2 separate regions of the Homo sapiens genome follow, and region 1 is linked to region 2. Evidence: promoter capture Hi-C in 16 types of primary human blood cells and fetal thymus (Javierre and others, 2016). All regions are on one chromosome and are shown on one strand. The core of a region is centred on a gene start or on the middle of the fragment in contact, and the rest is flanking DNA. Distances in the headings are between cores, read along the strand shown. Region 1 holds the start of CRYL1 (crystallin lambda 1). Region 2 holds the start of ZDHHC20 (zDHHC palmitoyltransferase 20).

The links. Contacts are between HindIII fragments. The CHiCAGO score rates a contact against its expected background, and 5 or more counts as called.
Region 1: the fragment with the promoter of CRYL1 here is called in contact with the fragment with the promoter of ZDHHC20 in region 2 in 14 of 17 cell types (fetal thymus, total B cells, naive B cells and 11 more); the score reaches 23.7 in fetal thymus.

The regions. Positions count from the first base shown.
Region 1 is chr13:20,524,503-20,527,259 of GRCh38, reverse strand. CRYL1 (crystallin lambda 1) reads left to right here and starts at 1,403. Exons shown (of 8, transcript NM_015974.3): 1 at 1,403-1,506. The coding sequence starts at 1,466. RefSeq lists an enhancer at 888-997 and a silencer at 1,178-1,727. The HindIII fragment of the contact is 5,179 bases long and covers 456-2,757 here.
Region 2 is chr13:21,457,972-21,460,719 of GRCh38, reverse strand. ZDHHC20 (zDHHC palmitoyltransferase 20) reads left to right here and starts at 1,417. Exons shown (of 13, transcript NM_001330059.2): 1 at 1,417-1,666. The coding sequence starts at 1,549. LOC124903131 (a long non-coding RNA gene) reads right to left here and starts at 1,173. Exons shown (of 2, transcript XR_007063713.1): 1 at 541-1,173; 2 at 74-337. RefSeq lists a cis regulatory region at 1,176, an enhancer at 1,092-1,261 and a silencer at 1,125-1,504. The HindIII fragment of the contact is 7,258 bases long and covers 1-2,748 here.

The sequences.
Region 1 (2,757 bases), core at 154-2,653, 930 kb after region 2:
AACTCCTGGCTTCAAGCAATCCTCCTGCCTCAGCCTACTGAGTAGCTGAGACTACAGGCGGCACCAGCCTGGATAAGTTTTTTAATTTTTTGGTAGAGACAGGGGTCTCGCTTTGTTGCCCAGGCTGGTCTTGAACTCCTGGCCTCAAGCTATTATTTACTACTCAGCTTCCCAAAGCGCTGGGATTTCAGGCATGACTTTGCAGGGAGCAGCAAACAAGCCAGTCTGCTGCCCCCATAGCCTCCGGTAGTGAGCAGTCACAGGATGCTCACTCCCTGGGTGCCTTGATTATTATATTGGCTGCCTGTGTAACTGACTACAGAAACTGCTCCATCAGAAGATGGAAGCTTTGGAGCCTTGTATTCTCAGCCAGAGCAGGCGCGGTTGCTCAGGCTAGCGGCTGTCTCAACAATGTACTGTAACATTCCCTCCAAAAAGTCCTCAACATTTAAGCTTGCCTTCTACTGTGTGTAAGTTGCATGTCCGAAACACTCCATTACGGATATGGGAATATAATCAATCCATGTGACTTAGCCAATCTGATGAGTGAGAGATGACTTATCTTCCTTGTGTTACTTTTCATTTCTCTTGAGGTTGAATACTTTACAAATATTTATCGATAATTTGTGAAACTGTTCTTTAAAAAACAAAACAAAACAAAAAAACCTAACCCCTCCCCTGAGATTTCTCTTTCCACGTTCCTGACTCAGGGGAAACAAAGGAAGACTTCCTTTTATCATCTCAGTGTTGGCTGCGGTTCCAGCTTGAGTACTGTCTCCTCTGTCTAATGACTGTGTCATTTCCCGTTCAGCTTGTGCTGTGTGGACGCACACCACTGTCAGGCAATGTGTGATGCCCCTTCCTCTTGGTCTGTTCCGGGCTCCAAGAAGGCCAGGAGTCAGGGCACGAGGGCATTTCCTTTTTCTGATACATAAACCGAGTGCAGAGTGTGCTCCGTGGAGGAATTCAGACGTGTCCTTCCGTAGCGCAGATGAACGCATCAGGTGTTCTCTTTCACTGCTGTCGCAGTCCCTGCGCCCAGTTCGCAGTTGGCGGCAGCGGCAGGCGTCTTTCAGAGACGAATTAGCAAAGGGGACATTCTCTGACAGTTTCTCTAGGGTGCTTTAGCGCTAGAGCCCGTGCCAGCCTGCCCGTGTCCCCTCCTATAGACACGGACTTCACGGTGAATGCTGACAGTCACAAGCGCGTGGTCTTCCCGCTTTCCACCCCCCGACGTGCCCCCGCGCTGGTCCTGCCCCTGCCCACGAGGGTCGGCGCGCCGTGTGTCTCCCGGTGTCTCGGGCCCGCGGCGCGCACCCCACTCAGGGACCAAGCGGCCCTCCCCGCCCTCCCGGTCCGCGCGCGCAGCCAATGGGCGCGGGACCCGCCCTCCCCGGAGCCCAGAGCTCGCAGCTCCGCCGGCGCCTGGTCCCAGCGCCCGCGGCGCCGCGTCCCCGGCCCAACCATGGCGTCCTCCGCGGCCGGCTGCGTGGTGATCGTTGGCAGGTAAAGGGCTCCGAGCCGCGCTGCTGCCCCTGGAGCCCGGGGAGACGCCGGGGACGTGGTGCCCTCGCGTGGGGCCCTCGGGGTGGGCGCCGGGTCGCTGTCCCCGCCCCGGCCTCCGGTCCTCCGAAGCCCTGCGCCCTGCGGCCCCTACGGCGCTGGCGGGCTCGGGGAGAGGCGCGGCTGGAGGGGCTTGGCAGGTGGAGGCGCCCCGCGGAGTTGGGTCTGCTTCCCGGGAGCCAGCGTTGCAGGAGGTTCCGAGGTTGACCGCCCAGGCCGCGGGGCCTGCGGTTCCTGGACTCTGTTGAATGTCGCCGCGTCTGCCCGCAGGTCCACATAGAAGTGCCAGGCACCGTGTTGAATGAAACGAATTCTGGCTGCGATCCTGCGACGACTGTGTTCTCATCCCCATTTTACGAATGAGAATACTGAGACTAAGCAGTTTACCTAAGGTCACAGGCGTTTAGTGACGGAGACAGGACTAGCCCAGCAGGGAGGGTGCCAGCGCAGTCCTGTCGGCGACGATGTCGCTGGAGGCCGCAGCAGGTGTTAGGCGAACATACACGCAGTCCTAATTCCTGGGCGAGGCGATGTTTCCAGAGGGGAGGTGGGGGCCGATGGAGCCCAGAGAGTTTGCTAAGTGTGTCCATTTAACAGCTTAAATTCTGCCCAAACTGATTTTTAGTGTGTGCTTCCCCCACCCCGCCCCCCACCCCTACGGTTACAATCCTTGCTATTTTTGTTTTTTAAAAAGGGGCATTTGTATGTACCTTTCTTTGGCCAGCTGTTAGCAGCAATCTATAAACATGTTAATACTTGCTATTGATAGTTAAAAGCACCTTTTTGGTGACTGCTGTTGAGGTGTTGGCCTGCCCCCGACTCCGCCCCCCATCAGTGTACAACCCGGTGTGGAGACCACTTCCAATGTCAGGGTGTTTCCTTCCCACTGAAGGAAGGCATCAGATTCCTTGTTGTCAGCTTTCTTTTCTCCAGAGCAGTGGAGTTAACTGTGCCTTTGTTCTTTCTGGCCCATGAGTGCCCGTGGTTGAATAGTGAAGGCATATTAAAAAGTGCACTTTGGGCCGCGCGCGGTGGCTCACCCCTGTAATCCCAGCACGTTGGGAGGCCGAGGCAGGCGGATCATCTGAGGTCGGGAGTTCGAGACCAGCCTGACCAATATGGAGAAACTCCGTCTCTACTAAAAATACAAAATTAGCCGGGCGTAGTGGCACATGCCTGTAGTCCCAGCTACTC
Region 2 (2,748 bases), core at 168-2,667:
TGAACCTAAACCTACTGTCAACTAGGCCACTAACTAATATGACTTTTAAGGCACAAAATCAGGGAGAACAGAATCTTTTATACATGCTTTATTACTCAAGCAGCAGTGTGCAGTGATTAAATACTTACTCGCTTTTACTACATTTCTCTGACACAGCAAAGGGTGACGTCTTCTTCATGGAGACTTTAGTGAGCAGTAGCTAATTTAAAGCTCAGTGTAGGCCGGTCGTGGTGGCTCACACCTGTAATCTCAGCACTTCTTTGGGAGGTGGAGGCGGAGAGGGGTTGGGATTCCTTGAGCCTTGGAGTTCAGGGCCAGCATGGCAACAGGGCGAAACCTAGTTTTTACAGAAAATACAAACATCAGCTGGGCATGGTGGCGGGCCTGTAGTCCCTGCTACTCTGCAGGCTGAAGCAGGAGGAGTGCTTTAGCAGGGAGGTCGAGGCTTAAATGAGCCCAGGTCGTGCCACTGCACTCCAGCTTGGGCGACAGAGCGAGAAGACCCTGTTTCAAAAAACAAACACAAAAATTCATTCTAACCAAAACTGAATGCTAGTAGCAGGAACTGGTATGAAGATTGCGGTCTGGAATCCCTTCTAATGCGTCTGACCTTGCATTGTGAAGTCTTCACAGTGATGCTTCTGGGTTCTATATGATTATCGTCATTGCTTAGCAACCTCTAGTTGTAAATAAATTCTTTAAATTTCCTTAGTCGTTTGCGGGGCAAGGAGAGGGTCATTTACATGCCCTTTCCTTCTCGCTACTCAATCTTAAATTTGGGTTACGAATCAAACTGATGGACCCTACATGGCTTCTACCCGAAATTACAGGTATCTACCGTTCCATCTTCAAGAAAGGGAGGGGTTCCGCCAAGATGGACGAACATAAAAATCACAGGAGGAGCCTTCTAACAATGTGCATTCTTCGCACACTGAGTGGGGAATGGCCTTGTCATGTTTGAAACAGTGCCCCAACTACTCAATGTCCCAGGAACCCCAGTGGAGCGAGTTCTGTACACAGAGAGGGCCAAGATCCACAAATCAGCTAAGGAATCATTTCCATAGTCTCCCTCCCCTATTGAGTCTCGATCCACAAAAGCTATCCCCTGTCCCTCTCATCCATCAAGGGCGTGTTTTTCGCCTCTCCTTCCCCGGCCTCCCGCGTCCGCCCAGCCTGTCCGCATCCAGCCCCGCCACGCCCCATGGGCGGTCCCGAGCTGCGGCCCCGCCCCCTCACCGCCTCCCCGGCCGCGGAAACCCCGCCCCAACGACGCGGAGACCGGGGGCGGCCCGCGGCCCGCGGCGGGCGGGCTGGCGGGGACGGACGCGGGGGGAGGGGGGCGACGGGATGTGGGGTGGGGGCGGGGCCTGGCTGGGCGCCGGGACGGGAGGAGTCCCGGCGGCGCCTCGGACTTTTGCTCCCACAAGTCCTGCCTCGGAGGCGGGGGAGCTGGACCAGCAGCCGCCTGGAGCGTCCGAGTCACCGTCGCCGGGGCTCCCGCGCTCCCCAGAACGGTGGGACGCGGGGCTCGGCAGCCGCCAGCGGAACATGGCGCCCTGGACGCTGTGGCGCTGCTGCCAGCGCGTCGTGGGCTGGGTGCCGGTGCTCTTCATCACCTTCGTGGTCGTCTGGTCCTACTACGCGTACGTGGTGGAGCTCTGCGTGTGTGAGTACCGTCCCCGGGGACTGCGGCGGGGCGCGGGCCGCGGCTAGGGCGCGAGATAGGCCTCTGCGCCCCACACCCGCCGCCTTTCTGGAGCCAGCGCCGGACGCCGGGCGTCCGGCCCCGAACGCGCTCGGAAGCGCCGAGGTTGCTGCACCCGCCGCTTTGTTCAATCCTGCGGCGCGGCCTTGGGGCGACCTGGGGCTCCTGAAGCCTTGCGGCGGCTTCCCGGGTGCAGGTCTGGCCCAGGGAGGCCCCAAGAGCTTCCTGGTTCCCGCCGACACCGGGGGTCTGCATCCTTCTGGGAAGGAACGTGCAGAACGGGAGTAGTCGAGCTTCTTAGAAGGTTTAGGTTGTGTTTGTGGCTTTTTTGGCTTTTGTTCATTTTTTTTAAAAAACCAAATCTGTTCCTTCTGGATTGTTTTTGTTCAAACTGCGCGAGAAGAAACGCCTGTTACCTGTAGAGCCGGCTGTGGCGGGTTGGGGGAAGGGAGGTGTGTCTTTTGGTGGCCTCGGGCTGGAGGCGGGTCAGACCTGGAGGACGAGTAAGCTCCCACTTTTGATTTTTGGTGGTACTCGACTCATTGTAAAATTCGTTTATTTCTACTCTGAATCCAGCCGGCTTTTGCAGAAGGTTAAGACAGAAAGAATGGGTGGGAGGAGACATAACCTGATTATTTTTTTCTTGGCTGATTATTAAGGAGGCTTATATTTCTTATACTCATATTTTGGCGTGTTAATTTTCGTTACTTCCATTTTCCTGATAAGTTCTTAGCACAAAATTCTCATCTGATTCCCTGGAAAAAAGGAGTAGCATTGCAGTATACTTCAAGGATTTAACCTACTGGCTTGAATTGGTTGCCTTTAAGATTGAAGGAAATTGGTTGTCATTAATCAAAAACACTGTTTAGGGGTGACTGCTACATTTGTGATATTGGGCAATTTCTCCAACATTGTTTTGTCTTAAGTAAATTGTTCTTAGGCTTTGAGTATGTGGGTATTTTACACTTAAACTGGCCTCAACTAGGGTGTTCTGTATACATCTGCTGCCTATATCAATTTTTTATGAAAACCTAGGACCAAAT